Linked DNA regions of Homo sapiens: all the other regions are linked to region 1. The links are contacts of gene promoters, found by promoter capture Hi-C in blood cells and fetal thymus (Javierre and others, 2016). All regions are on one chromosome and are shown on one strand. The core of a region is centred on a gene start or on the middle of the fragment in contact, and the rest is flanking DNA. Distances in the headings are between cores, read along the strand shown.

Region 1 (4,361 bases), core at 671-3,170:
GGTGACCCCTCCCAGTAGAGCACATGATCAGCCACAGCTGTGCATGTTTTTTAGTATGACTGCACTAGGATAGGGCTCCAAGCCACTGGGTGGAGCAATGTGCTCTGGGGAGAAAGCTCATGACATTTCCCCTATGATTTCACAAAAGAAAAAATCTTTTTCTTATGAGTTGTTTCTGCTCAACGTCAATAGGAAAGGTCATAGCTTAGCGTGTTTACATACAGATGCATGCATGAATATGTAGAATATCAGCCACTCCTACGGTGTGAGAGAATTTAAATTGCACTGGTCCTAAGAGTGAAGGAAAGCAGGCGTAGTTGCCTACTCAACCTCCACTTTATTCTTTTCCCTTTATAACAATCCTAATTTCATTTGAGATGACAATGTATACAGCTAGAAGACAATTTCTCAGCCTCCCTTGGAGAGCTAGGTTCCAGCCAATGAGATGTAAACAGAAATGTATGCAATGTTCAAGTAGGCTGCTTAAAAGAAGTTGACTCCACTTGAAAGGTGTGCTTGGTTTGGCCTGCCTTCTCCCTTCCTCTGGTTGAATGTCATCTTGATGACTGGAGCTCCAGGAGCCATCCTGGAATTTCTGACCTTGAGGGTGGAAGCCACAGGCTAATATGATAGAAGGATGAGGAAGAGGCTGAGTACCAGATGGCTGAGAAGCCACTATACCAGCCCTAGTTTCGAGTTTACACTGCTTCTGTGAAAGAAAAGTCAATCACAATAAAACCTTTTATCTTGTTTAAACCACCTTAAAAAGTCAGTTTTCTTTTATATGCAGCCTACTAATCCTATCCAAACAAGGCTTGAATAAGGTTTACTACAGCTCTTTTTTGTTGTAATAGCAGAAAAATTGGTAATAAATGCCCATCAATAGGAAAATAAACTATTAATTTAACAATACCAAATAAAACTGTGCAGCAGTATAAAGAATGAAGCGTTTTTTGTTGTTGTTTTTGAGATGCGGGTCTTGCTTTATTGCCCAGTCTGGTCTCAAACTCCTAAACTCAAATTATCGTCCTACCTCAGCCTCCCAAAGTGCTGGGATTATAAAGGCTTAAGCCACCGTGCGGCCTTTGGTTTTTTTTGTTTTTTGTTTTTTAAGGTCTTATGTAATTAAACATTTTAAAGACATCAGCTGATGAGCCGTTTAAAACAAGAAGAATCTCAAAGCATCTTTGGCCAAAATCTTTTTAAGAAACAAAAAGTAGCGTGATTCAGCCTTGAAAAGGATTAGTTAGAGCCTACAGTATTAGGTTGAAATCAAAGAAAGGCAAGCTTTTTTTTTTTTGGATGAATAGTAATGATCTTTTTGGAAAAAAAAAACAAATATTGAAAGCTGGTTGAACTGAATCCTCTTTATTGATGAGGAAAGCAGTGGACTCGAACTATTTATGACTTTCTGAAAAAAGTTGCCCTACCTGCCACTCACTTCTTTTTAACTGGCTGTTCTCAAAGGAAATTGCAAGAGACTGAGGATAAACGTCCGACATCCAGAAATGGGCTTTTTTAGAGCCGAGGCAGCCTCCAGAACTTCCAGTTCCAATTTATTTCACAGGCGAGAAACTGAGGTCAACAGGGACGTTGGTTAGTGGTTCCTGGAGGCCCTGAAGGAACTTTTGGACCTGGCTTGTGCGTTCCAGAGAAAAAGGTCGGCCTCTGACGGAAAACGAAAAATGAGCACTCAGGGACCCACCCAGCCGGGACAGAGCGCCTCAGCCGGACCAAGAGGAGGAGCCAGTGGGGCGGGGCCAAAATGGCGGAGGGGCGGGGCTTCCAGAGGCGGGGGTTAGGAAATGGTACGGGGCGGGGCCCGGTAGGCTAGCGAGGGCCGGGAGGCGGGGCCTCGGAAAGGCGGACAGGAAGGCGTGTGCAAGGCGGGGTCCGGCCCGCGCAGGTCGGGTAAGCGCGTCTAGGGCGCTGCGCGGCGCAGCGAAAATGGCGGCTTCCAGGTGGGCGCGCAAGGCCGTGGTCCTGCTTTGTGCCTCTGACCTGCTGCTGCTGCTGCTACTGCTACCACCGCCTGGGTCCTGCGCGGCCGAAGGCTCGCCCGGGACGCCCGACGAGTCTACCCCACCTCCCCGGAAGAAGAAGAAGGATATTCGCGATTACAATGATGCAGACATGGCGCGTCTTCTGGAGCAATGGGAGGTCCGCGGCGCGCGCACACCCTCCCGGCTCTTCTCTGTGCGGGACCCTGTTCCCTATGACCCCTTACCTGTTCTGTCTTGGGACCTTTCTGACCCCCTAACCTCCTCTACTCATGCCTTGAATCCTTACTGACCCACTGAAGCCACTGTTGACCCTCCATTCCTCCTCTGACCCGCGCGCCCTGCTGACCCTCGCTCCAGCCCTCTGTCATTCCAGTGCCCTGTTCCTCCTGCCATTTCTCAAACCACTTCAATCACGGATCTGCCCCTCACTGTTCAGCTTTGCTCTCCCTTCACCCTTCAGTGCCCTGGTTGTCTTTGCGTTGATTCTTGTGGTCAGTGAGCCCTGCAAACAGGGAGAGTGACCTTTCCCAATCTACTAAAGAGCATTTCCTTCTGTTTTGCGGTGAGTGGGTGGGAGAGTGGGTTGCAGTGAAGATGGTCTTCCTTAATGGTTATCTCAGCTGTCTTCTAAATCAGTATAATTTTAGACTTCCTATTTTGGTATATGTCCCTGCTGGGAATTTTGTGCTTTTTGTGGGTGGATTTATTTTACTGAGGGGAGAAGTATCAATGGCTAATGGCTCTGTATCGTGAAACTCACGCTTTTTGTTCAAAGGAGAGTAAGTTTTCTGGTTTGTCACTTGGACGCACCGGAGTGTGCAGTTACAGGGAGTGTGTAATACGCTTTAAGGTAAAGATTACTGGCCAAAACCACATTGCTGCCTTTTCCCCTTCCTAAGGTGATTGTATCGTCCTGGTTGACTTGCATAGCTGTGGAACCTTGGGCAGGTTATGTCTAGTTTCTAGGCCTCGGTTTCTTTATCTGCAACATGAGGAGGTTAGGATGGGTCCTAAGATTCCTTCCAACACTGATGTTTTGTTATTTTGTGATTATCTCTGTGTGTGTTACGGGAGAAGGGAAAGACTTTCAGACAAGAGTTTAAAATACCACCTGATGCATCTGACTAGAAGAATGCAGGCTTGTGTTTTCATGTGGTCATCAACAGCTGATGGAAAGATTGGGATAGATTTGAGTGTAGAGAGAACGTCCCCATTCACCGTCTCCCTTGCAATCTCCTTGTCTCTTTTTGGACTCCAGCAAATAAAGCCTTTTGATCTGCCAGAGTGAGAACATCACCTCATGAGAAATCCTCCCCTTGACCTACTCAGACCCTGAGCTAGACGAAGAGGGTGCTGAAGAGATGAACAAAGATTGCACTGGGAACAGTAGATAACAGGATGGATGAGTGGGGAGAGACTTTGAAGGCCAAGAAAAACACATTATCTCATTTAATCCTTTTACCCCATCCATGAGGGAGGTACTTATCCCTATTTTCTAGATGATGACATTGAGACACAAAGAGGTTAAATAACTTGCTCCACATCGCACAGCAAGCTAGCTGAGTTTCAAATTCTTTCGCGACTTTTAGAGCCAGTTCTTTGAACTGTTTTACCTGTACTGCCACACATGTTGGTGACAGAAGTGCAAATGAAGGATAGTGAGGAAGACGTGGATTAAGCTAGAAACTGCAGGAGCAGAGTAGAAGGGAGAAATGTGAGATTTTTATACTTTTAACAGGACTTGATGGTTGATTTTGTTTTTTAAATTATTTTTTATAGAGACAGGGTCTCCTTATGTTGGCTGGGCTGGTTTTGAACTCTTGGCCTTTGCAGTCCTCCCACCTTGGCTTCCCAAAGTGTTGGGATTACGGGCGTGAGCCACCATGCCTGGGCAATTGATTGATTTTGTGAATAGCAGGGCCACATAATGTAGTAAAAAGACAGGTTGGCTGGGCGCAGTGGCTCACGCCTGTAATCCCAACACTTTGGGAGGCAAAGGCGGGTGCATCACCTGAGGTCAGGAGTTCAAGACCAGCCTGGCCAACATGGTGAAACTCCATCTCTACTAAAAATAAAAAAATTAGTTGGGCATGGTGGCGGGCACCTGTAATCCCAGCTACTTGGGAGGCTGAGGCACAAGAATCGCTTGAACCAGGGAGGTGGAGGTTGCAGTGAGCCAAGATCATGCCACTGCACTCCAGCCTGGGCGACAGGGTGAGACTCTGTCTCAAAAAAAAAAAAAAAGACAGATTTTGAACTCAGCTTTACCCCTCACTAGCTACTTCATCCTAGTTTTACGTATCTGTAAAGCCAGATAACGCCCTACTTTGCAGGGTGCCATGCGGATTAAATGAGTTA
Region 2 (4,361 bases), core at 617-3,116, 420 kb before region 1:
TGTAGGCATGATTTGATTATATTTAAAATTTTTACAATTTTTGTGAACACTGAATCAAGGTCAGGAGCTCTATATTTGGTAAATTAGTGCTTTTTAAGAGAAAGGCAATGTATGGATTGGCTTCCAAGTACGAGTTGTATTTGAGTAGCAGTGGCTATCTTCATGACATATCTAGGTTTTCTAGTTTAAAGAAACTTTAGGTCTTAGTTTCAGTTTTTGGTTTTAAAAACTTTGATTAAAGAACTGCTTTGATAAACAGAAGCCACCAAGAGCTTCTTCTCATATATGTACTGCAAACATGCATGATCAAATACCAGTGATCTATGTCATCTAATTGCAACACAAAATAGCTCCTTGAACATGCACGATAAAAGCATATTTTTTAAAAAAAAGTTAAAAACATTACACTCATACAAATATAAAGCAAATGTGTGTCAATGAGCTGTTGATTTATTGATGAGGAAACCAGCAACGTGCACAGAATGATTGAAAGAAAAATTAGAGAAAAAAAAGATTACACAGTCTATTAGGAAAGGAATACCAAAATAAATTTGCTAAGTCAGAGATATAACTAGTTAATGTTTTGCATCTCCATTAGACAAAAATCTACAAGTTAACACGTGACTTCAGAGTCTTGGCTTTAATTAACAGAAAGTAGTTAATCAACAAGAGTCCATCTTTTAAAAAATGAAATAATGCTTGATGGGCCTGATAGATGCTGGTCTGGTATATGATATTGAAAGCACGAGCAATCTTCTTTTGCTTTATTTCTACATTTTGGATAATTTTTAAACAATAGCATTTGTTGTAATCTATCATGTGCCATTGCTATGATGTGGTGTCCAACAGTATGATCTGACTAGAATTGCAAAGATTAATTGATTATTTTCCCAGGTACAATACTTATCATTGGTTTTGTGGCTAACCCTGCAAGCTTCTTGGTAGTGGAATAACTTGTAGTTCTTTTTGCTGTGAGAAGTAGAACTCTAAAAGGTGCCTCCCTAGTTTATTTTTTCCATCTTTTCATCCTCCTCCTCCTCCTTTTTCTTTTTTTTTAAACAAACTTTTTATTTTGGAGTAGATTTACATTTACAGAAAAATTAAGGAACTAGTACAGAGAGATCCTGTGTACCCCACACAGTTTCCTCTGTTAGTAACATCTTATATTAATATGGTATATTTGTCACAATTAATGAACCAATATAGATACATTGTCATTAACCAAAGTCCATACTTCATTTAGATTGCTTTAGTTTATACCTAATGTCCTTTTTCTCTCCCAAGATCTTATTCAGGATACCATACTACATTTAATTGTCCTGTTTCCTTCGACTCCTCTTGGCCTTGAAAGTCTCTGAGTTTCCTCGGTTTTGATTACCTTGACACTTTTGAGGAGTGTTGGTCAGGTATTTTTGTAGAATATTCATCAATTTGTATTTGTCTAATGTTTTTCTCATTAGACTGGGATTATGGGGTAGGAGAGGAGGATCACAGGTACAGTGCCATTTTCATGATATCAAGGATACATACCATCAACATGACTGGTCATTGTTGATGTTGACCTTGGTCACCTGGCTGAGGTAGTTTGCCAGTCTTCTCCACTGTAAAGTTACTCTTCTCCCTCTATTTTCCACACTGTACTCTTTGGAAGGAAGTCAGTATATGCAGCCCACACGTAAGGAATGCGAATCATGCTCACTTTTCTTGAATGCAAATTATCTGTATTAGTCAGGGTTCTATAGAGAATCGGAACCAATAGGATGTATGTGTGTGTATATGTGGAGAGAAGGATTTATTATAAGGAATTGGCTCATGCAATTCTGGAGGCCAGGAAGTCAAAAATCTGCAGTGTGGGTTGTCAGGCTCAAGACTCAGGTAAGCCAAGAATATAGATGAAGTCCAAAGGCAGTCCACTGAAGAATTCCTTCCTGCTTGGGGAGGGCAGTCTTTTGGTTTGATTCATGGTTCGACTAATTGGATGAGACCCACCCATATAATGGAGGACAATCTGCTTTACTCAAAGTGCACCCATTTAAATGCTAATCACATCTGAAAACATCCTCCAAGTTAGCACACAAAATTAACCCTCACAGTATCTGCATAAATTATTTGAAATTCTTCTGCACTGGAGATTTGGCTATTCTTCTCCATTTATTTATTTATGCAGTCATTTTGTTTATATCAGTGTAGACCCATCAATATTTATTTTATATATTGGGTTATAATTCAGTACCACTTTGTTTATTTTGTTGCACAGCTTGTTCTGCCTTTGGCCATTGGGAGCTTTCTGTCAGTTCCTGTATCCTTGGCATAGGCCCATCAGTGTCAGTTTTTCTGTGCATTTCCTTATTACTAGCATTGCAAGATGTTTCTCCTCCATCCTTAGAATCATCCATTGCTCCAAGGAGCCCTCATTCCTTCTATCAGAGAATGGTATTAGAAACCAGGATCTGAGTTCTAACTTTACTTGCTACTACTTGGGTGTCATTTATTACCTCTAGTTCCTCTCAGCTGACAAAATAGAGAAATACATGTATACACGTATCTATATAACCCATGTACAGATACATCTATAAATATTCATGTACTATTTATATATTAAGCTAAATATGAGTTTATACAGATGTCTCCCACTCTAATCAATTACCCATGGATTATTCTAGCCTCCTCCCTTTGCTCGTCTGTAACTTCCCACTCCAACAGTGAGGAGCCTGGCTCCCACCCTCCATTACACTTCACTACCTCTTCATTTTTTACACTAAAATACATCAACTTTAGGGTGAAAATTACCAAGCTTATTTTAGAAAAACTCATTTGGCTCACCAAAGAGATGCTATACCTTATTTTTCACAAACCCTTGAAAGATTTCACAATGCCATTTTGAAAAACTTTGTAACAGAACACAATGGGACTGGTGGGTGAATGGATCAATGTTTATCAATACAATCTAATTTTCAGATGCTCATTCTTTTATTTCTTTAGTTCTTCTAAAAGAATGAAGACAACAATGTGACAGCATTTCAGCTGGTGACATCATTTCTCTTGTATCTTCATTTCTCTCAGCATATACAGATCAACCTCTGTCTTCACAGGTGCTCTATTTATTATTTACATCTAGTGTATTTTTCTGATTTGTAGTATATTCATTAAATTTTTAATCACTAACCACCTGCTTCAATGAGTCATTTTTGATATGCTTTCTTGTAAATTGGTATTATAACACTTCACGTCTTATTGTTTTTGTTTTGTTTTGTTTTGTTTTGTTTTGAGACGGAGTTTCTCTCTGTTGCCCAGGCTAGAGTGCAGTGGTGCGATCTTGGCTCACTGCAACCTCTGCCTCCCTGGTTCAAGTGATTCTCCTGCCTCAGCCTCCCCAGTAGCTAGGACTGGGCCACCCACCATGCCCAGCTAATTTTTTTTTTTTTTTTTTTTTTTTTTTTTTTTTTTTAGTAGAGACGAGGTTTCACCATGTTGTCCAGGATGGTCTCGATCTCTTGACCTCGTGATCCACCCCCGCCCCCACCCCCCGTCTCCCAAAGTGCTGGGATTACAGGCATGAGCCACTGCGCCCAGCCAACACTTCACATTTTAAAATCAACTTTACCAAGGTCTCACTTACATATGATAAAATGCATTCATTCGAAGTGTATCGTTTAATGAGTTTTGGCAAGCTACATCCATGGAACTACCAACATAATCAATATAAGAAAATAATTGCTGCATCCCCAAAAGTTCCCAGGGTCATGAGCCTGTTTACAATCAAGCCTTCCCAAGCCCTGATTATTGTCACCATAGATTAGTTTCCACGCAGCAATTTAAGAACAAGAATCACAACTAATAGAATACAAGTGACATTGGAAAATTTTCACAAGACTCTGTTAGCTGAATGACAGCTGAAACAAATTTACCAACGCAGTTCTTGGAGCACATTTACAACTTTTATGATATAATCATTAAAATGCAGTGGAATTTAAAAAGTATAATTAATATTACATTTCAAATTTATAAAACATGTGTAAATAGGATTGTTTCATCATTTTTATCTCCAAAACTGCCTAACCATATGTGGACTACTTGATATACCATAAGCAATGTGTATAGCACATTTTGCAAAACATAATTCTAGGAGGCCCTTGGCTTTAAAAAGTCAATGGCATTGACTTTTCTAATTAAATATATGATAATGTCAGGGGGTGGGGGAGCAGGCAACTTAGGCACACATCTGGCTTTTTCTAGGGAGAAGCCATAACATTCAACAAATAGATGTCAAGGTTTTTTGAGAATTGTATAGGAGAGTTAGTCTAGTACAATTAATCTCAATCTTCAGTGTAGTTAATAAGTCTTTCTTCTAGGCATATGCT
Region 3 (4,361 bases), core at 715-3,214, 400 kb before region 1:
AAGGCTCTGGGCAGTAGAGGAGGAATACAAATGTTAAAAATGAGGGTGGCAAAAGGTTTGTGCAGAAAGCTGATGGAAGGGAGAAAGAATGGAAGTGGGTCACACAGCTTTAAAATCAAATGAATCCTAGATTTTAGCAAACAAAACCTTGTTAATTTTTTTTTCTCCTGCCTCTCTGTTGACTACATCTCTATTTTATGGCCATTTGGAGATCATTTGAAGTCCATCCCATAATTGTTTTCTTGCTAAGCTTCCTTTGTGCAGAAAAAAATGATAATGCAGTTAGCATGCTTTCAGAAGTCCCAGAGGAAATTAATTTGTTTACAGGATTGTGTATCATATGGTTAAACCAACAAAGAGGAACAGACAGTTCTCCTCTCAGCCGAGCTAAGCCACTGCTGTGTGAGGTCAATAGGCAGGGAATGTATGCAGGGTCCCAGTGAGCTCCAAGAGGGGCCATCTAGACCCAGGTCACGGTTCTCAAACCATCCCCACTGCGGAGCCATTCTCAGTTACGGTAGCTCAGCTCTCTGCTCCTGGATTTTGTTATTCTTTTGTGGGGCTGATGTGTGCAGCATAGACTGCCACTTTTTTGCAGTTCATCCCTGCTGCCTCCCCCTGTGGGTTCTTCAGAAACACAGCCCTCATGATCCTCCTCACTCCATTTTGCGACCACCCAAGTGGTTTTGCTGGCACTTGGATATTATTCCTGCACTCTGAGCTTTATACTGGAAGTGAACCAGGACAACGCTCAAGCAGATGGCACCTAAGGGTTAAAAATAGATACACAGAATTGAAACAAAATAGACTTAAGTCAACAACGAGCCCTAGAATCTAGGGGTGCACCATAATGTAAAATTTCCAAGTGTCAGCATTTAATTCCACTTTTTTGTTCTGTATCATATATGCCAAGTCTGGATTATCACAGTTTCCAAATTAGTAGGGCAGAAATTTAATAAGACCCTATCATAACCAGTGACAGTTTATCTTCCTTTTTTAATCTCATGAAAGATACCACTTAACAAATTTCATCCTTCCTGCAGTTGGGCTGGGAGCACATGTTCAATTACACAGTGCGGGCGCGTTCACCAATCAGCCGGCTTCCCGTGAGCTCTGGGAATTAAACCCTGCATCTCTGGGCCTTGGCAGGCTGCTTCTCCCATCCATGGGCAACTACAGTAAATTCAGACACCCCGAGTTAAATTCTATATATGTACTTGGCTACTGTTTGGGCTTGTTTCTTAGACAGGAGAGGGCATTTTTAAAGTTTTATTTGCATTTGGAGCTGGATTAAAGAGCACACATAGTGTGTATGTTATGTCGTTAATCAGTATATTGGCAAAATATTTTGTTTGCAGTTCTCTACATGAATCAGTTCAGTTTGCAAAAAATAATTCATCTCAAAGCATTCTTACCAAACTTTAATGCTGATTTTAAAATAATGTCAAGAATGATGATAATAATGGCTATCACATATTTCATAAGAAATTACTTAAACCATTCTGGCCATGCTTTCATGGTGGGGTTTAAATGACACTACTATTATAGACACAAGAATAAACATCCTTCTCAGTTTTTAGTTTCCTACTACGCCCTATGCACTGTGGTAGGCCTTTCCTATACAATTTTGCTAATCTTTACAACGTTGCAAAGTTATTTCTGTTTTGTAAATAAGGAAATAATGACTCAGGGACAGTCAGTAAAAGCTCCCTAGCTTTCACTGTGGAAGTACTCTAGCTAGCAAGCAGTAGAACTGACATTTAATGCCTGGAGTATTTGACCCCCAAGCCTCTTAAGAATCTAATTTATCAACCAAAATAATCTACATGGAGTGATGCAATGTGTTTATGTGTGCAGCATAGTGTTCACTGCATCTCCCCAGGAAGATTATTTTGGTTGACAAATTAGATTCTTAGTAGACACAGAACAAATCATAGGCTCAATTGTCATTTATTCACCCAAATAGAGTAAGTTATGTTTTTTTAAAAGAAAGATATAATATGTAAACTGTCTCTTGTTTGTTTTTTACTTTCATGTAAAAGTATAGTACTGAACAGATAGACTAGCAAGGTGTAAATATGTATATATTTAATATCTGGTGGGGATAAATGCTATAAAGAAAAATAAAGCGTGATAGGCAGCCAATGAGGGCTGGTGGTTTGCTCTGGTATGTAGGGTGGCCAAAAATACCCTCTGATAGGGCAACATTTGAGAAGAGACTTGAAGGAGGAAAGGGAGCAGGTAACTGAGCATGCAGGGAAAAAGCATTCCAACCAAGGCAAAAGACACACGTAAAGACCCCAAGGCCACAGGCCTGGAGTATTTGGGCACAGCAAGGAGGCCAGTGTGGCCAGAGCAGGGTAGGCAAGACACTCAAATTACAGGAGAAGAGCTCCAGGGTGCAGCACAGGGTCCCTCTTGTTGGGCTATGTAGCTCTGGGTAAGGATGTGGATTTTACTCTGACTGAGAAAAGGAGCCACTGGAGGTTTCTAGAAGAGAAGGCACCTGATTTGACTTACATTTTTTACAAAAAAAAATTCTCTGGCTGCTGTGAGGAGAATGGGATGTAGCTGGGCGGGAAATAGTCTTTGGAAGTCGTCAAAAGAAACAGGACAACGATGAGGAGGCTGCTACGACAATCTAGGCAATGGCGGCTTGGACTGGGCAGTAGTCACAGAGGCAGATGGAACAGAAAGGCTCTGATGATTGCATTATTTTAGATAAAACGTTGTATTTCATTAGCATTCTTGTTACTTCACTTTTGATGTTGGAAATTTAGGTGGCCCAATGTTTTAAATAAACCTATCACAATCAAACATTTTGAACACTTACTACATCAAACACTATTCTGAGCCTTTTACAGCTATTTATTTTCATTCTCACAGAAACACTTCAAAAAGTCCCAGTTTTCCTACCTATGGGTTGGACAGCCTTGGAGAGTCGTATCTCTTGAGGCCTCTGACCCGTCTTTTGTAGAACAGGGGATTGAGCCAGGTGACCAGAGTCTTTCTAGCGCTACAGTTCTATGACTCTGTGCCTTTTTACAGAATGGAGTCTCAATTTCTCAGAGGCCATCTGTGGAGTTTCTATTTTAGATCATTTCAAAACCAATCACATTCTCATCCCCCTTCTCTCACAGGCCCCCGACAGCCGGGTTCACACAGTCCCACACCTCTTCTGGTGTCCCATATACAATGCCTTCTCCTCAGTACCTGGAGCACAAAAGGGAATTTGACCCCAGGGTATCACTCAAACTTGTTTATCTTGGCATTATATCTAAGGACTAGAAGGTGGACCATGCCCAACAGCCGGCTTCACACAGTCCCACACCTCTTCCAGTGTCCCATATACAATGCCTTCTCCTCAGTACTTGGAGCCCAAAAAGGAATTATATCTAAGGACTAGAAGGTGGACCATGCCCAACAGCCGGCTTCACACAGTCCCATACCTCTTCCAGTGTCCCATACACAATGCCTTCTCCTCAGTACCTGGAGTGCAAAAAGGAATTTCACCCCAGGGTATCAATCAAACTTGTTTATCTTGGCATTATATCTAATGACTAGAAGGTGGACCATGCCATGTCTGTCACTGCTGTTTAGAGCAGGCTTGCAGAGAAGGGGCTGAGACTTACTAGCCCCACCTCCCTTCAGGCCTGCAGAAATGAACAGTAAGCTTTCACAAAAATATGGTTTGCTGGGGACGACTTAGTTAAAAAACAGAAGTTAATCATTTTCTGAAAGACAGTTGGAAAGTTGATCACCGGGTGCAAGGGTTGATTGGAATCTTAGGAAGCAAACCCACAGAGACACCAGGAAGGATGTGGCATCTCTGGTAAACTTGAAACAAGGCATGCACTTACAGGTTCCCTATTATTAACCTCATTTTGGACATAAAGTGGCTGGATTAATTTCCTGTGGCTGCTGTAACAAATCACCATAAACGTAGTAGTTTAAAATGACAGAAATGTATTTTCTGGCAGTTTTGAAGGCCAGAAGTCTGAAGTCTGATAGTATCACTGGGCCCAAATAAAGGTGTTGGCAGGGTACTCCCTCTGTAGGTTCTATAGAAGAAGACATTCCTTGCCTCTTTCAGCTTCTGGTGAGAGCAGGCACTCCTTGGCTTGTGGCTGCATCCCTGCAGCCTTCAACGCCAGCATCTTCAGGTCTCTCTCTGCTCCATCTTCACATCACCTTCTCCTCTGTATGCAGTAAAATCTCCTCCTTCATCCCTCTTATAAGGTACATGTGATTACCTGTAGTGCCTACCCAGATAATCTAGGATAACCTCCCTATCTCATAATACTTAATCACATCTGCAAGGACCTCCCTCCCTTTTTGCTATATCAGGAAATACGCACAGG
Region 4 (4,361 bases), core at 802-3,301, 350 kb before region 1:
CCAGGGCTCTTTCCTTAATAGAAGGCTGCCCTTAGTATAATCATCTCTGTGCTCATGTTAAAAAACACAATCCTTTTAAAGTGAAAAAGAGAAACAGCATTGTTCTGTGCTAGAGGACATTCTACCTGGTCAAAACACAGAAAGCTTTTATTAAACCACAGTGCACAGCACTTTTTTTTCCTATATTATCCAGCTGTATTCAAGCAAAACCCTCTAGTATCTTCATCCAGCATTCAAGTCAGCTTTGATACAATATGGAATATTTAGTCTACCTTAGTGTACACGATTAGAACACACACATACATGCAATGTGATTAATGACCCCATCTTCCATCCTCCATATTAATTAGATATGAAATCATTTGAGGAATGTTATGAATTGGCCTCCAGGCATCCAGCCATTTTCTGATGTCTTGCAGCATCTTTCTGCCAAGAGCAATAAAATCTGGAGTTATGTTTTTCTTTCTCACAGTGGACAAGAGAAAATTTATGACATTGTGTCAGAAACGATTGAGAAAGACTTTCCTGTGTGGTTTGGCTCCGTGGTTGGACACATCAGTAGCCCCGTGGTCATCCTGCCCGCAGTACTCCTGCTTTTGTGAGTACCACACCTGCCAGCTTTGGAGGGACTTCTGTGTGTTTGGCCAACAAGAAAACGCTGCTTTCCAATAATTACATAAAATTTATTAGTTCATTCAAAAATCACTTAGGCTTAGAGCCTGATGATCTCAACAGGGACTCTGAGTCACACACCAGAGTCACATGAGGCACTGTGCCATGGAGACACAGCCACTGGGTCTCAGCGAGGGGCGATGAGGGAGCACTCCATTGCCATTGAGGTGGTTATTGATCCATCAACACCATTTGGTCAATTACTGTGATCACTAGAATGGGGCTGAATGCCATTATCATTTTCTAGAAACTTAAATAATCCTGAAAAGGAATTTCACAACTCAGCTGAGTAGCTTTGGCTTATTTTGGTTTAAAGGAAAAAAAAATAAAAGTGAGTGGATCCTGTACTCATAGCTTGATAGACTGCAAAATTTCTCCCCCATTTTCAGTTCTTCCTTATTGCTATCACCAGTGCAGAATTCCAGGTCAACGAGGGTGCTGTGGAAAGCCAGGAAGAGAAAACAAAAGCAGCCCCTTCCCAGTGCTCACTGGCTTGAGAACTTGCTGATACATTTTGTCCTTAGCGGAGGGTCAGTGGATAGCCCGCATCTGGCCTGGGAGCCTCTCATTCCTGCCAACTATCTGCAGGGAATGTGGTCTGAAAAGCAGAAAAGCGAGTTGCAGTCCACTCATTGTCCTGTGTTGTTCTGTCCTAGCATGCTCATCTATTATCTCCAGAGCATCGCACGGTCTCTAAAGCTCAGCAACCACCAGCTCAAAATGCAGATCCAAAACGCAAGTATTTCATGAACTTTGCTATTATGAATATGTGTCAACCACATGACTGAGATCCCGCCAGCGTGGGAATACAAGTGAAGTCACATCTTCAAGGTTTCTGTGACTCTTGGCCACCCACTATGGTGCAAGGCCACCAATCCCCAGATGTCCAAGAGTTATTTCTAAGAATACCCAGGGATGGCTCCCCTTTGCTAGGAGGAAGCCTGCTCCTGTTTTTCTTCCTCCTCAAGAGGCCTTGCAGCTGCCTCGAGCCTTTCAGTGCCCACCCTGTGACCACACCAAGCCCTCAGTGTGCCAGGTACTTTTGTGAGCTCTGGTAGATTGGCAGGGGAGAGAAAGGGCCCCTTCCCAATCCTTGTCAACTTGGGCATCTGAGCCCAGCAGCACTGTTTGTCCCTAAAGCCTCACCTCTTTCATATCCTTTAGATGTGGCTGTCATTACGTTCTCTCCATGGGGCTCAAACCCTATCTCTCAGAGCAGTCCCAGGGAGACACACGCTCCCAAAACTCCCACAATTTCTCCTCCTCCACATACCCCAGGTGTTCCCTTAGTGCCCTGGGTCCTCCAGACCCCAAGGAAGGATCCCAAGACTGGGATGAGGCCAGTGAGGCTCCCAAAGCACCACATTTAAGGAGGCTCTGTAAGCGTAATGCTGATTCTGTCCTTTCACAGCCCTGAAAATAAGTGCCTCCTTAAATTTGGCACCCCAGATGCCTCACTGACCTCACCCATGCAAAAAAACTCCTTCCACTTCTATCAGAAAAAAAAAAAAACTTCCCATGAACATCAATTCATGCAAAGAAACACAAATTAGCTTCTAATTGGAAATTCATTTGGAGTTACAAAGGCCATTTTGGTGGAAACATACATCTCCAGTGTTGTCGATCTGTATTTTTTTCTTTGTGATTCAGGCAAACTATTATGGACAGAATCTAAACATGGTCTGTTAATTAGCTGTCCCTAAATAAAACTGGCTAGGCATAAAACTTCAGCTCTCAGGTATCTGCATTTATTCACTCAAATAACAGGCCCGAGCCCAGAGCATACCGTCCATAGGGGGCAATAGTAGTACAGTTATGGTCCAAGGTAAGAACTATGGCATGTAAATCTTTTTCTCTTCCCCCAGGAATAATATTTGTTACTGCTTCCTGCTAAAGCCAAAACAAACATGCATATCATTTGCATTTTAGGCAAGATCAGAGGATAAGAAAAAGGTTGCCCAGATGGTAGAAGGTAAGTATTTCCGTTTCTTTTTGTTGTTGTTTTTTTGTTTTGAGGCAGAGTCTTGCTCTGTCGCCCAGGCTGGAGTGCAGTGGTGTGATCTCGGCTCACTGCAACCTCCACCTTCCCGGTTCAAGTGATTCTCCTGCCTCAGCCTCCTGAGTAGCTGGGATTACAGGTGCGTGCCATCACACCTGGCTAATTTTTATATTTTCACCATGTTGGTCAGCCTGGTCTCAAACTCCTGACCTCATGATCCACCCACCTTGGCCTCCCAAAGTGCTGGGGAGAGCTAGCCCCTAGAGCTAGCTCTAGGTGTGAGCCACTGCACCTGTCCTAATATTTTTTTTAAATGCAGAGATCTGCTGTCTCAGTTAGTGGGCATTTAAAAATACAGCCATTTAAAGTAGTTTGCGGTATACTACCAATACAAATTCCTGATAACCTGTGTTTTTTCACCAGTAACTATGCACAATAAAATAAAATCTAGGGATATAAATGTTGTTTTAAATCTTTAATTTTTATATCATATCCAGGCCCATGAATAATCCCAAAACATGTGTAAAATCAGAAGGAAGTATCGAAGTAGGAGAGGAAAAGCAGCACATTCACGTGGATGAAAGCCCAAAGAATCTCTTTGTCTGGGTCACTTTTGTATACTTCCTCTCCATGGCCCATCTCTTCCTTGCAATGTTCCCTCCCAGGTCCCTTCCCTGAGCCTCCTTAGGTTCTGTCCTGTCCCTGCAGAGCAGGGAGAATGGAAGCATGTGGCGTAGAAGTCTGCTGTGGCCTGAAGGGAAGAAAGTGGGCAACGGCAGCTCGAAGGAGATGGATCTGTTTCTCAGGACCACTAACAGAGTGCTGTGAGCTAGAAGGCTCACTGGGCACCATTAACATGGCACAGCCTACATGAATGAGAATGGGACCCAGAAGGGCTTTAGGGGCTAGCTCTCACAGCTGTTGCAATACTTCACTAATTGGAAGGGAAATATTCCTCTCCAGAAAAATGTCTGAGCAAGACCTCTAAGGCCTAAGGATTATGCTTGCTTGCTCCATCAGCTTTTCAGAGAGAAGCCTACAATTGATAATGATTACTGAAAGTGACTGTGGCTCACGCCATAAAATGCCTCTGTAATCGTCATCGCTTATTTGCCAATTAAGCGTAATTAAATTTAGTTCAGGTCACCTTCAAAAGCCAGAATCCACATAGACTGTTTCAGGATAACAATAGCATTGTCCAGTGTTCATTTTCCAGCTCGAGACCACATCTTTTTTCAGAATGCATGTGAACTGTTTCCAAAGAATCATAATTGTTGTGTAAGCTTTATTATCTCCATTGAATAGATAAGGAACTGGAGGCCCAAAGCTGTTAAGTACTTGCTTTGCCTCATGGGAGCATCAGATGGAGCACTGTAAAGCCTTGTGTTCACTTGATTCCTCCTACACTCCCAGCTCCAACTTGCAGGGATGAAATCATTTGAATTACAGAATGTTTGTTGCCCACTGGTTAGGTGCATTTGTAAGTGCACTCAATTGTTTGCGGACCAACTCTTGGATGTCATAAAACCCTTGCAACTCAACTCATCTGAAGTTGTCACCTGCTCAGTGACACCTGTCTTCTCACAACACCTCCCTCTCCCTGCAGCCCGAATCCAGACCCAGGAAGAAAGCACCAAGAAGCTTCCAAACGACAGTGATCTTACCAGCCAGCTGTCCTCAGCGCACTCGG
Region 5 (4,361 bases), core at 466-2,965, 330 kb before region 1:
GAGGCCTACGAGTGAAGTGGGATGAGAATGTGACCGGTTTTGAAATTATCCAAAGCATCACTGACGTAAGTCTTTCCAAGCATGTTATCTCTAGATAGTGTCTGGGCCAGGCTATAGTAACCCCCTCCCATTTCTTCTGGAAGGGGTCCGTGATACCTTTTGTTAAGGGGGTGTGTCCTGCAAGCACAGGCTGCCCACTGCTTGCAGCATTGGAGGCCTGCCTCAGCCCAGTTTCCCGGTGGGAAACCTCATGACTCAGAGAGGGAGAGAAGCCCCAAACAGAGTCTCTGCGGGGAGCATACCTGTTCCTTGTGTGGGGCTGCTGCACTAGGCAACACAGGATCCTCAGCCCCTGGCACCCACTTCCCTGAAGCCTGGGCCAGTAGCAGCTCCACGTACCTGCATGACCCCAGTTACCCTCTGGTATGAGGGTCTTCACGCTTTTTGCTTACATGCATCCAACAGATTTTTGAGAAATTATGCATCATCCTCACACATCCAGTTGATGTCTATTAATAACATTTAGTTTACAACTAAATTTTCATAAGTTGCAAAGCATGTCATTTTTGACATGTAAATCTCAGTTTTGAACAAAGCAATGACATCATTCTTTTAGATGTGTCTAAATAATATATAAATTTTTACTTAAAATACATGAACAAGGTTTTTTAAATCATCAGAAATGGTATATAGCTGTTTTCCTGGAACTCAAATTTCCATTCCACATAGCCCTCTGAATTTTATCCTAATACAATACATGTTTATTCTTGGAAGTCATCATCTTGCATCATAAATATGCATAGAAATAGAAGTTTTTTTAATCATATATTTCATGTAATCATGAGACTAATTTTTTTTTTTTTTGAGACGGAATCTCACTCTGTCGCTAGGCTGGAGTACAGTGGCGTGATCTTGGCTCACTGCAGCCTCTGCCTCCTGGGTTCAAGTGATTCTCCTGCCTCAGCCTCCTAAGTAGCTGGGACTACAGGGGCACGCCACCATGCCCAGCTAATTTTTGTATTTTTGGTAGAGACGGAGTTTCACCATATTGGCTGGGATGGTCTCGATCTCTTGACCTCATGATCCCCCCACCTCGACCCCCCAAAGTGCTGGGATTACAGGTGTAAGCCACTGCGCCTGGCCAAGACTAATTGTTTTTTAAAAAATTGGATTGAGGTACGAGTGTAATTCATTAAAATAACATGATTATATTATAAATTCTGATAAATATTAAACGTGACAAGTAAAACATTTTGCGTCTTTAGATGAGATGAATGGGAGCTCTCTTTTTTCTAATTAACTCATAAGCCCATGAAAAGATACAAACTTTTCAATAGACAACTGCAAAGTAGAGGGGAAGCACAGGCTACTGGTGAGCTCAGGTTTACAAAAAAGTGGAGAATTGCCAAGTGGTAGCTCTTTATCATTTAGTGAAACAATGAAAATGTGGAGAAAGGGCTCTTCCTTGCAGACTGACATTTCTCAGCATGCTTTTGGCAACTCTCAAATATCCTAATTCTAAAATAGATAGATGATCGATGATAGGTGGATGGATGGATAGGATACAGGGCCATGCCATGAGTTTGTCGCATTTATGACATGTGCTGCTGCTGTCTTCAAAATTTCTTTCCAAAGTCCTCCTCATCTTAGTTTCCAGACACTGTACCTCAGGAATGATGCACTTGGAGGCAGTCATCAGGGGTGGAAGCAGTATGATTTTTTTTTCAAAATTTTCATCACTTCTGCCATTACTGTTACAAAATACCAGAATTTAGAAATGGCAAAATTGCCTAGTTTTTAACACCAAGTTTTGGAATATGCTTAAGAAAGGGAAAAACATGAAATTCTAATACCAGTGTGTACTGCCTTGATTACATATTGCCGCCCGCACTCCTAATTGTCCCTTTGCCACCCTGGAGGATTTTACACACTGGGACAATTCATGATAGGATGATTCTAGATGAATGGGCATATGCTGTGCTTTTCTTCAAGTGGGAAAGGAGACCCTGTGTGCAGGTGCAGCCTGTTCCCAGGCAGGTCATTAGGGGATGAAGGAAACACGGAGTAGTTTCCTGGAAATTTATTCTCATTGCACCCATTGCAAAGTGCTCAAGTGCCCCCATGCATCTCATGCCATTCGAAGATTAATTTCCTGAGGCCGAAAGTGTCCCTGATGAAAAGTTCTGCAGCAACACACGATGCCCCAAGTCTTAATACCTGAGGGGAAAGACACAGAGATGGAGACCTTTACCAGCCCCTCTCACCTACCCCGAGACTTCTCTCCAGGACTGTTCCATCACAGGCCTGGCCTGTACTTCTCCACTGTGACCTCGAGAGAGCCTGGGCCCCACTCTCTTGCAGGATGGGATGAATGGGAGAAAGCCCAGCATCCTTGGTTTATAAAATGAGAGTGTGGACTACTGGGATATGCTGAGATTGAGTGAGGTTCAAGGTATTCCCTCCTGGGGCTGGGACTAGGGTAAACCAAAGAGTTGCCCCAGGCACAACATAGGAGGCTGAGCAAGTGCAGGGTCAGCCCTAAAAAAGAGTGGCCTCTCTTCCCTCTCCCTAGCTCTGGCCCTGTTCAAATCCTATCTCCACCATGAGCTTCGTGCTGAGTTCCTTAGTCTCTCTAAGTGTCAGTTTCCTCACCTGTAGGAGGGATTAATGATTCCTATTTCTAAAGGTAAGGGACAGCTGAGAGCTTTGTCCAGCCAGGCTCTTACTAGGTGCTCAATAAATGGTACCTCTTATGGTCACATGAGACGTGACCTCAGCATGGCACTGGTCTGCAGCTAGACAGCTGTGGGCAGCCTGTGTCACAGCCCTCGTCTTACAAACTGGGTGTATTTCCATGACACCCAGTTCCTGGGAAGACTCGCTCTGGATCTTAACTGTTTATAGTGCCACCCTACTGTCAGCCCTAGTACCTTTCCCAGACCTTGAGGGATGGGGTGGGAGTTGGGAGAAGATGTCTGGCCAGCAGTCACAGCTACATGCTTCTTTGGTTTGGCAGACCCTGTGTGTAAGCAGAACCTCCACTCCCTCCGCTGCCATGAAGCTCATTTCTCCCAGAGATTTTGTGGACTTGGTGCTAGTCAAGAGATATGAGGATGGGACCATCAGTTCCAACGGTGAGTGATGCCCGGAGGAGCTGCCATGCCTTCCTGCGATATCGAGCTTTCTCTTCTGCACCCCACAGTTCCTTAAGGAAAGCCAAGCAACCAGAAATCACCAGAAACTCACACTCTGAGTCCCCTACCTCATCTGGTTGGGTTTGGGGGGACTCAGGGCCATGGGGGTCTGACGCAAGACAGTCCATATGCCAGTAATTCTATGTTCAAGTCACGGTTTTGCCAGTGCCCCTTTTTTTTTTTTCCTGCGGAAGCTCATGGTGTGTGCTGTACACATGTGGGTTAGTTGGGTGGCAAAAAACTTGTGTGCAAAATCTATGGCCGTGTCTTCTTGAGGGTTTGGATGCTGTCCACTCCCTTAATGCCCAGTGAGGAGCAGGGCTCCTGCCTCTGCACAGCCCCTGCCATTCCTCCAATTCTTCTACGCGGGAGAGTTGGATGCATCCATGCCTCTCCTGGCTGAGATTTGAGAGAGGCACCTGCCTCCTCCCATGACCAAACCTTGTGTTCTAGAATGTTCTTTTCTCTGATATTCTTGACAAGCTTGGGAAAGCTATGTGCATGTTTATGTGTGAATGTGGATGAGTGAGTGTGTGTGAGTGCAAGTGTGTGTGTGTCTGTGTGTGAGTTTGTGTACACGCATGTGAGAGTGTATTTGTATGTGTGAGTGTAAGGGGCAGTAGGGTGGGAGTAGGGGGAACTCACGCCAAGAGGCAGGAGTCCCTCACAGACTCCAGGGCTGCAGGTAGTCTGGTCTGTGTGCTCTATGGCACCCCAATGGCAGTGACCTGACCGTCTGAAGTTGTAACTCACCGAGATTCTGCACTGTCTTCCAGCCACCCATGTGGAGCATCCGTTATGTCCCCCGAAGCCAGGTTTTGTGAGAGGATTTAACCATCCTTGTGGTTGCTTCTGTGAACCTCTTCCAGGGTAAGGATAATTTCCTGCATTGAGGTACATGGCTCAGACCTAACTGTGACTTCCCTGTGGACCTTCTGTGAAAAGGGGCACTTTGACTACGATTCAAAAGAAGAAAAATGCCTTATAGCTCTTTAGATTGTGACGATACAAAATACTTTCACACACATCTGCATAAGCAGAACCTCCTGAGAGTACCTGGCATGTGGGAAAGAATTGAGGGGAGGCGTTACTCTTATTTTTGATGCAGGAAATTTTCCCTGCAGCCTCCAGGTTAAGCAAATGTCATGGTCCATTTAGCAAATGAGG
Region 6 (4,361 bases), core at 1,299-3,798, 310 kb before region 1:
GCCCAGCCCTGCCGACATCTTCTCCAGTGTCACCGTGCAGACTGTGGCCTCTGCTGCTGAGAAAAACACAAGGTCTCTGTTAGGGATCCTCTCCTCTCCCAGGCCACAGATGCCCTGGGCTTCAAGTGAGCCCGGGGTGATACAGCCCCCGTGTTTGCACACAGGCACATGTAAACACGTCTCAGGCAGTGTACTAGGCAGCCACACATTCTTGGGGTCACAAATTACTGAGTAGCCCCATCAGGTCTGGCCCCAAATGGCCAAAGAGGATGTGGCCCATGTGGCTTCCACTGAGTTGGGAGAACTTACTAGATTCTACAGAAACATCACTGGCTGCAGAGGCTGAGGCTGCAGAGTCAGTGGAGGAGTTGAGGTCGGGCATGGCCTCTGGAGTCAGCTTCCTTGTGACAATCACAGCTTGCCTGGGCTCTCGAGCTTGGCGGAGGATGGCCAAGGCATCATGGTGCGTGGTCCCCTTGAGAGACTTGCCGTTGATGGAAAGAACCTCATTGCCCTTCTGAATAGTCCCTTCCTGGGAGGCCAGCCCATTTGGAAACACTCTGTGAACCTGAGCAAACCAAAGGAAGTCAGGACCAGAAATCACACAAGTCCAGTCCACATACTTGCTGGAGGAGGATTGAACCGGTTAGTCAATGCTAGAGGATTTTTAGGCCAACAAAGATTAAAGATAATTGTGTCCTAGATTGGAGCTGCTGGCACAGAGGCCAGCATTCCCTCCTTCTCCATCCAGAGCAGAGATCACCAGCAGTAATGACCAGGTAAGCCCTCAGAATCCATCCCAACACAACGTCCTATAGTGTACCACCACGATTCTAGTTGGGATTCCATATAAAATCTTTTGCTTCACCTGCCCTAGGTCAGAAGTCCCCAGAGTAGTTTTCTCAAGGCACTGATTCTATGGCATATTAACGGGTATTGTGTAAGAAAAAGGCTTTTCCTATTATTTTTTAAAAAATAGAGACAGGGTCTCCCAGTGTTGCCCAGGATGGTCTCAAACTCCTGGGCTCAAGCAATCCTCTCACCTTGGCCCCGCACAGTGTTGGAATTACAGGTATGAGCCACCACACCCGGCCAAGAAAAATTTTTTAAAATCAAAGAAACTTGAGGAATACTGGGTGAAACAAAAGCTCTGACATTGTCTACTTTTAAAAAGCAAAAGGCATTAGAGGGTCTACAATGCAAATTTGCATGGCAGCAGATTTCTAAGCAAAAGGCATTTAGAGGGTCTACAATGCAAATCTGCATGGCAGATTTCTAAGTATTGGCAGGGTATTATGGGGATTCCCAAAGTGTTTCAACAAAGAATTCTTTTCTCATAGAGAAATTCTCGGTCTCATTTGGCAGAATGCATTTTGAGAAACACTCTCCTAGGCAGTCTAGACATTTTTATAGCTCCTCCCCTAGAAATTCTGACTCTTTACCTCCAGTCACCTCTTGGTCCCCTTTCTGCAAGATATGTGGGATAAACAAACACACAAAAATATCTCATGTCTCTGCCTCAGCCTCTTTAATGAGGTCCATTATAATTAAGAGGACTGAGTGATAGCATGCATGGAAACCACTAAAATGTGGTACCTGTAGTTTTGCTTTTATGATAGGAGCAAAGCTCTTTGCTTCTCTAAATTGTTTTGGTGTTAGAAAAATTCTGTTACATGGTTAGAATCCCCAGGCTGTAACATCCAAGCATGAAGCAGAACCTCTCCTCTGAGCCTCAGGTTCCTCAATGCTAGAGGATTTTTAGGCCAACGAAGATTAAAGTTAATTAAAGGAGGAACCTCAGGTTCCTCCTCTATAAAAGAAGCATAAATGCCACCAATTTATCAATCCAAAGTGTGGGTAGGATGAATTTAGACAACAGGTCAGTGAGTGCTCAGCATGGCCGTGGATGGTGCTCTACGTTAGTTCCCTTTTAATCATCTGGAAAGGAAGAGAAATGCTCAAACACAGAAGGAGAAAGAAGCTTTTGTGCATGTGCTCAGCCAACATGTGCGCCTTCCTCCTAGTTTCCTGTTGTCTGCAGTGTCTCAAGGGTGACTGGCCAGATGACGTGGACAGAAGTTGCTACTCATGGACAGAGAAAAATACCCAAAGTGCCATTCCCACAGGCAAGCTCTCTTTCCTCCTCTTCAAGTAGAAAGTAAACTACACGGTCAGGAATCTTTTTGTAATACTCAGCTGCACTCAGTGAGAGAAATAGAGACTTACAGGTTTTAAGTGTTTTTTATGTGATAGAAAACTTATCAGGAAATCAAGGAAGTCACCACTGACATGATTGACTCTGAAGTGACACGCAGGAACATGCCAGATTGCCACTGCAAGGGGGTGTGGTATGTTGAATGCTGGCTGATGCTGTGAACTGGAGGATTTGTTTTCAGTTGGGCATGGAAATTCAAATGAGCCCAGCACAGCCTACACAAAGGATACCCTGAGACAACACAGCCCTGGGATGACAGCAATGCACTCGGCTTTAGAGAGCGAGCAGCCGCAGCATGGCTCCACAAAACTGGCAGAACCAGAAACCATCTGGGTCAGGTACAGGTGACCTGAAGGCAGCAGCCAATGCTGATCAGATTGGATGAGCCAGAATAGTGGGACCCACAGGAAAAGATGCCCATGGCCAGGCCTGCTACCCTCTCCACGCAGCCCCAGGCTCTGGGATGTGCTGAGTGGACAGGACCTGCCCAGTGGCCTAGTGTCATGCATTCTTCATTTCCCCAGCACAGGGCCCCTTCCTGGCAAGTGTGTCCCCCTCCCCCAGAACCATTGCCTCTGGCTGTGACATGCCCCTTCACTTGGCCACTCACCGTAATCACCTTGTTTTCTAGATCTGCTCCTCCTGCCAAGCTGAACCCAAGACCAGCACCTTCCTCCTTGTGTAAGATGGTGACATGGATGCCGTCTAATTGCTGCAGAGGAAATACATACATTCAAAAACATTTTACTGCAAGAGGATGAACAATTTAACATCGGACTGACATCAGACTGATTTGTTATCTCAAACCCCAGCTTGGCCAGCCTCCAAGTTACATCACCTCCTCAAACCTCAGTTTCCTCATCTGTAAAGAATGGACCTTCAGGAGTCATGGGAAGCTTAGAAGAAAAAAAAAATGTATGTAAAGCAGCAAGCATAATTATTTTCCTCTCTCATTCACCCTGTCCACAGCCGGGCAGGGGGAGTGCCATGAAGTCAGCCAGAAATCAGCATATTGGACAGTGTGAGATGAAGTCAGGTTGTAGGACTTCAGGTAAAACAAAACAAAAAAAAAAAACAACAAAAAACAAAACAGGGGTCAGTGCTGTTCTGCAGGAATTGGTTGCTCCTTCTTCCCTTCTACTTCTCCATGGGTCACAGCAGCAGCACTAAGGAAGCCCAGCTAACATCCTGCCCCAATGCACAGTGTGCAAGTGTGACACACACACACACACACACACACACACATTACTACGGTACTTCCTAGCCTAGACGGGGACTCCCATGGAGCCAGGACACAGTCAGAGACTCCTATTCCAGTCTAGAGCAGGGGTCTCAAACTCAGATGCCTATAGGAGTCAGGCAGGTCCCTAAAATGAGCCAAATGGGCAGATGTGTGATAGGAACTGCAGAGCGCCAACGAGTACATCTGCTCAAAGGGTCAGCTCTACGTAGGCATACAGAACTAGCGCTACCAGATCACTTCCCTAAAGTCCAGGTTTCAATTCAGGTTTTATCATGTATAGAATTCAATATTTTTTTCATCACCATGCAGACCAAATAAAGTACACCTACAGGTTCTTGGGGCACCTGTTTGTACCTTGGCACTAAGGAGTAAACTTATGTCAAAGAATTCACTTGCTCAGCGTCACTAGAGCACCTGACTTGCAGCTGTCCCTATGATCCTAAGACTTGGAGCCCCTAAGACCCAAAGGCATGGAAGGATGAATGTACCTCACTGCACCCTCACCTCCAAGCCCCAACACTAGCCCAACTCTCTCAACTTTTACCCAAGTATCAGGTTACTTGCCTTGTAGAAGGCTCTTCTCATGTTAGAAAGCAAATACTCTCCCCAGAGCAGCTCAGGCAGGATGGCTCTTTGTGTTTTACACGCTCTGCCTCTGTTATTTCATTTGCACTGAGTAAGATCCTGGGGGATGATGGTCCCAGGTGACAAGTGAAAGCCACAGCGAAAGAATCTCAGCACAGCAGCACCTTGGGCTCATCAGACTCACCTACACTCTTGATGTGGAAATTGCAGCTATGAGGCCTCCTTGTATGGAAAACGAGAACCTCCTTATCCTCTCATCCTAGCCTGGATCATTCTAGTGCCAAAAGCCTACGGAGGCCTGGGGCAGCACCTAGAGGG
Region 7 (4,361 bases), core at 667-3,166, 300 kb before region 1:
CACATTAGGACATTAGGATGGCTACTATAAACAAAAAGAAAAGAGGCTGGGCATGGTAGCTCATGCTTCTAATCCCAGCACTCTGGGAGGCTGAGGCAGGCAGATCACTTGAGGTCAGGAGTTCGAGACCAGGCTGACCAACATGGTGAAAGCCCATCGCTACTAAAAATACAAAAATTAGCCTGTGCAGTGGTACACACCTATAATCCCTGCTACTAGGGAGGCTGAGGTGGGAGAATCACTTGAACCCAGTGCAGTGAGCCAAGATCGTGCCACTGCGCTCGAGCCTGGGTGACAGAGTGAGACTCAGTCTCAAAAAAAGAAAAGAAAATAACAAAGTATTGGCAAGGATATGGAGAAATCGGGACCCTTGGGCTCTGTTGATAAGAATGTAAAATGGTGTAGCCACTGTGGAAAATAGTTTGAAGGCTCCTCAAAAACTTAAAAATAGAATTACCATATGACCCAGCAATTCCACTTCTGGGTATATACCCTAAAAGAAGGGAAGTCAGTATCTCAGAGGAATCTGTACTCCACGTTCATTGTAGCATTATTCACAATAGTCAAAAGGTGGAAACAACCCAAGTACCCAAAAACAGATGATAAACAGCATGTGATACACACACACGCACACACACACACACACACATACACATACTAGAAGATTATTCGACCTTAAAAAGGAAGGAAATTCTGGCCCGTGCTACAACATAAATGAACCTTGAGGACATTACGCGAAGTCAAATAAGGCAGACACAAAAGGACCCATTTTATATGATTCCACTTCGATGAACGTAGAGTAGTCAAAATCACAGAGACAGAAAGTAAAATGGTGGTTCCCAGGATTTGCTGGTAGGAGAACATAGGGACTTGTTTAACTGGTAGAGTTTAAATTCTGAAAGATGGAAAGAGTTCTGGAGACGGATGGTGGCAATGGTTGCACAACAATGAGAATGTCCTTAATGCCACTGAACTGTACACTTAAAAAATGGTTAAGATGGTAAATTTTATGTTATGTGTATTTTACCACAATAAACAACAATAAATAAATCATTTAAAGTCTGCGGCACAATGCCTGGCAGATGGTAAACTCTTACTAGAGGAGAGTTACCATCCACAACAGTCCTGTAAGGTAAAGACCACTCCCCTATGTCAGAGTTGAGGAACCAGAGGCTCTTGGAGGTTAGATGAGTTGCCCAAATTAACCATAAGCAAGCAGCAGACTGGACACATGCCAGGCATTCTGCTGCTGGGCCTGGCTCTCTTCTCTCTGCCCTATGCCTGTGCCCCTGGATCTCCACGGCCTAGGGTGTCTTCGTCTTTCTGCTGCTCTAAACCTTACCTGTCCTTTCTGGCCTGGCTCCCTTATCTGAGCAGCTGGAACTCCAGCTCCCTCACTCTCAAGGCCCTCACCTCTGTGGCCTCTCTGTGTGTGTCCCATGTCTCTGGGAGAATGCACATTCCTTAAGCCCAGGGCTACAGCATTTGCCCACAACCTGACGCCCTACTCCACTGATTTTCTGCCGTAGTCCTAAAAGCAGCAGGAGGAAATGACAAATTAATTGGGACCTCTTTCTTTTCTTGTATTGTCCAGAGATTTAGGCCAATTATTTGTTTGCCTTAATTAAGAAGTTTGCTTGTCTCTGATTGTGTTTAGCTCCAGTGTGCAATCCACAGAATGGGGCTGGGTTTGAATTCCACCACACCATTATATATTGATTTCCCTCATTACTCCACTCTGTCCAAGTGTCACTGGGAGTTTGGGAGTCAGTGAGTTCAAAGCACAGGCTTTGCTGGATTTAAATCTTAGCTTCTTTACTTAGTAGCTTCACCATTGGGAAACTTATTTGTCCTTTCTAAGCCTCAGTTTCCTCATCTGTGAGTTGGGGGGGAAATATCACACTGATTTCAGGAGGCTGCACAACAACTAAATGCAGTTGTGTGGGTCACATCTTTGAAAAACATGCCTGGTGCATATTAAGATTAAATAATTCTTTGTGGTGATTATTCCAGGTTCCCCAGAGCTCTCACCAACAGCAGGGATTCAACCCCCAAGTCTAGCTCCAGCCTGGGTTCCTGTTATAGTTGCTATCAGCCCTAAGTCTAACTTGCCTACTGGGCATCTTTACCTGGACACCCCGTGGTACCTCCACCTCACTATGTCCCACAGTAAGATCATGCTCTTCTCTCCCTCCCAAGCCTGCTACCTTTTCCTCTTCTCTCTTCTGGTGGAAGACCATTGCTCAGTCTTCCAATCTAAAAATATTCGAGATATCTTCGGTTCCTCCCTCTCTTACCCCAGAGCCACTTGCCCAGCAGCTCTTGTTGAGTCTTCCCAAGCATTGCCTCATGTTGCCTGATATGGTTTGTCTGTGTCCCTACCCAAATCTTATCTTGAGTTTTAGCTCCCATAATTCCCACATGTTGTGGGAGGGACCTGGTGGGAGATAATTGAGTCATAGGGGCAGTTTCCCCCATTCTGTTCTCATGATAGTGAATAAGTCTCACAAGATCTGACGATTTTATAAGGGGTTTCCCCTTTCACTTGGCTCTTATTCTCTCTTGTCTGCCATCATGTAAGACATGCCTTTCACCTTCTGCTGTGATTGTGAGGCCTCCCCAGCCACATGGAACTGTAAGTCTATTAAATCTCTTTTTCTTTATAAACTACCCAGTCTCAGGTATGTGTCTATCAACAGCGGGAGAACAGACTAATACATTGCCCCTTCTCTTTTCTCTTCTCATGGCTGCTGTGTAGTTCAGGCTCTCACCATCAGCTTCCTTCCTCTTACAAACCCCACACTCCACCCACTCTATCCTGTCTTCTACAGTGCAATCAAAGGTTTAAAAATTAAAATATGAACATGCTCCTTCTACAGCTACAGACCTCCCATAGCTCCTCACTATGTAGAATAAAATGCAAACTCTTTAGTATCCTGTTGAAAGCCCTCTGCAGTGTAACCCCAATGCCCTGCCAACATCTGTTCTCAGTCACTCTTACCTAGTACCCTACATTCCAGCCCCACAGAACCCACTCCTCTCCTTCCATGTCAGGTCCCTTTTTGACTCTGTGACATTGAATTTTGTGTTCCCACCTCCTGGAATGATCTTCCTTATATTCTCTGCCTGGAGAAAACTAACCTCTGGTATTTTTTTACTTTATCAACCATTCCCTGCTATATTCCTGTATTCTCATAGGACTTACCATCTCTGTTTTGCAATTATTTGTATGTCAGGCTCTTTATTGATACTGTGAGCTTCTGCAGGGCAGGACTGTGTGCTATGAACTTGCCTCTGTATCTTCAGTACCTACCTCCAGACATTCCCACAGTGGGTACCTACTAGACGCATAAATGAATAAATTTCTTGGTCTACTAGCTGGGACCCTGGGTCTCTACTTTCCTGCCCCAGAGCTTATAACTCAGCTGTAAGAGCTTCCCTAAGTTAATGTCAATTGCCTCTGATATCTAGGAGTTTGTTAGTGGACCTCTGCTGCAGACAATTCTTACTACAGAAACTTGGAAGGGATTCTTGGGAATTCAGGTACAAACCCAGCCAGCAACATCTCTGTTTTCATCTATTTCTTGTTCCAATTTTGGTACTGAACGAGTGAGCCTGAGAAGAAGAGGATAACCCAGTGGGTGTTACCTGTGGGTCTGGATGTCGGCTAACAATGATGGGGACTGGACCGGGATCACAGTGACTCAGGATCGTGTAGACTTCATTGAGCGTCAGGCAGTGCACAGGGGAATCACTGATTTCCACAATCTCGTCCCCACACCTGTGCAAGCATCAATAAGAAGCCATCAGTAAGTGAATCAATGAGACATTTGAACAGTCACTGCCCCAGGGGCCCACTCCTGGCTGGGCTGTTTGATGAGATATAAAAATCACATGAATAAGTAGACCCCACTAGCCACCAGACCAAAACTCAGAACAGGGCAGACCAAAGTAGCATATCCCATACCCCCTTACCGTACAACCACAAAGCAGCAGACATTTCCTATTTACAGTGGGTCAACATTAACAAAAGTTCATCTGTAACTTTCCTCCTTCTTTTCACATTTAACTATGCCCATTAAAGACTGAGGGTGTGGGTTAGCCAATTCAACTAAATAACAATTAACCAGGATTTAATCCACCACATCCTCTCCTTGGGCCTCTGTGTTCCCATAAGTAGACTAGTTAGAAGGAAGGATTGGATCTAACATAGCACACACAGGATGTTGAATATCGGACCTAACATCCTACATGTGCTAAAAGGCAGAGAAAAAATAACTCAACAGGAGAGCAGTTGAGATTCTTGCAAAAAGAAATAAGGAGAAAAGGTGATGGCATTCATTCTAGTTGTGAGGTGGGAA

Evidence for each region. The method cuts DNA at HindIII sites, captures the fragments that hold promoters and counts their contacts. A CHiCAGO score of 5 or more calls a contact.
Region 2: a fragment that was not itself captured here is called in contact with the fragment with the promoter of MESD in region 1 in 2 of 17 cell types (neutrophils and total B cells); the score reaches 6.0 in neutrophils.
Region 3: a contact is called between a fragment that was not itself captured here and the fragment with the promoter of MESD in region 1, in 1 of 17 cell types (neutrophils). The highest score is 5.2, in neutrophils.
Region 4: a fragment that was not itself captured here is called in contact with the fragment with the promoter of MESD in region 1 in 1 of 17 cell types (neutrophils); the score reaches 7.3 in neutrophils.
Region 5: a contact is called between a fragment that was not itself captured here and the fragment with the promoter of MESD in region 1, in 1 of 17 cell types (neutrophils). The highest score is 10.4, in neutrophils.
Region 6: a contact is called between a fragment that was not itself captured here and the fragment with the promoter of MESD in region 1, in 4 of 17 cell types (neutrophils, monocytes, total CD4 T cells and 1 more). The highest score is 9.3, in neutrophils.
Region 7: a fragment that was not itself captured here is called in contact with the fragment with the promoter of MESD in region 1 in 3 of 17 cell types (neutrophils, non-activated CD4 T cells and naive CD8 T cells); the score reaches 7.0 in neutrophils.

Annotation. Positions count from the first base shown.
Region 1 is chr15:80,987,378-80,991,738 of GRCh38, reverse strand. It overlaps MESD (mesoderm development LRP chaperone), which reads left to right and starts at 1,920. Exons shown (of 3, transcript NM_015154.3): 1 at 1,920-2,160. The coding sequence starts at 1,948. RefSeq lists a silencer at 1,647-1,926 and enhancers at 1,677-1,971, 1,611-2,224, 1,957-2,236, 2,225-2,839. The HindIII fragment of the contact is 12,917 bases long and covers 1,290-4,361 here.
Region 2 is chr15:81,402,846-81,407,206 of GRCh38, reverse strand. All of the region lies in intron 6 of TMC3-AS1 (TMC3 antisense RNA 1), which reads right to left. Among named protein-coding and RNA genes, the nearest start is that of TMC3, 31 kb to the right of the region's middle. The HindIII fragment of the contact is 1,860 bases long and covers 937-2,796 here.
Region 3 is chr15:81,384,510-81,388,870 of GRCh38, reverse strand. The region is part of intron 6 of TMC3-AS1 (TMC3 antisense RNA 1); the gene reads right to left. Among named protein-coding and RNA genes, the nearest start is that of TMC3, 12 kb to the right of the region's middle. The HindIII fragment of the contact is 3,423 bases long and covers 253-3,675 here.
Region 4 is chr15:81,334,892-81,339,252 of GRCh38, reverse strand. TMC3 (transmembrane channel like 3) reads left to right here. Exons shown (of 22, transcript NM_001080532.3): 18 at 473-598; 19 at 1,329-1,407; 20 at 2,602-2,644; 21 at 4,278-4,361. The region is part of intron 2 of TMC3-AS1 (TMC3 antisense RNA 1); the gene reads right to left. Among named protein-coding and RNA genes, the nearest start is that of TMC3-AS1, 13 kb to the right of the region's middle. The HindIII fragment of the contact is 3,810 bases long and covers 147-3,956 here.
Region 5 is chr15:81,318,112-81,322,472 of GRCh38, reverse strand. STARD5 (StAR related lipid transfer domain containing 5) reads left to right here. Exons shown (of 6, transcript NM_181900.3): 3 at 1-65; 4 at 3,017-3,134; 5 at 3,971-4,064. Among named protein-coding and RNA genes, the nearest start is that of STARD5, 3.8 kb to the left of the region's middle. The HindIII fragment of the contact is 3,928 bases long and covers 1-3,679 here.
Region 6 is chr15:81,302,115-81,306,475 of GRCh38, reverse strand. It overlaps IL16 (interleukin 16), which reads right to left. Exons shown (of 19, transcript NM_172217.5): 16 at 2,826-2,927; 17 at 310-568; 18 at 1-56. Among named protein-coding and RNA genes, the nearest start is that of STARD5, 20 kb to the left of the region's middle. RefSeq lists enhancers at 2,125-2,655, 2,040-3,239. The HindIII fragment of the contact is 1,130 bases long and covers 1,984-3,113 here.
Region 7 is chr15:81,285,118-81,289,478 of GRCh38, reverse strand. It overlaps IL16 (interleukin 16), which reads right to left. Exons shown (of 19, transcript NM_172217.5): 10 at 3,649-3,781. Among named protein-coding and RNA genes, the nearest start is that of STARD5, 37 kb to the left of the region's middle. RefSeq lists an enhancer at 2,622-2,701. The HindIII fragment of the contact is 6,054 bases long and covers 1-4,361 here.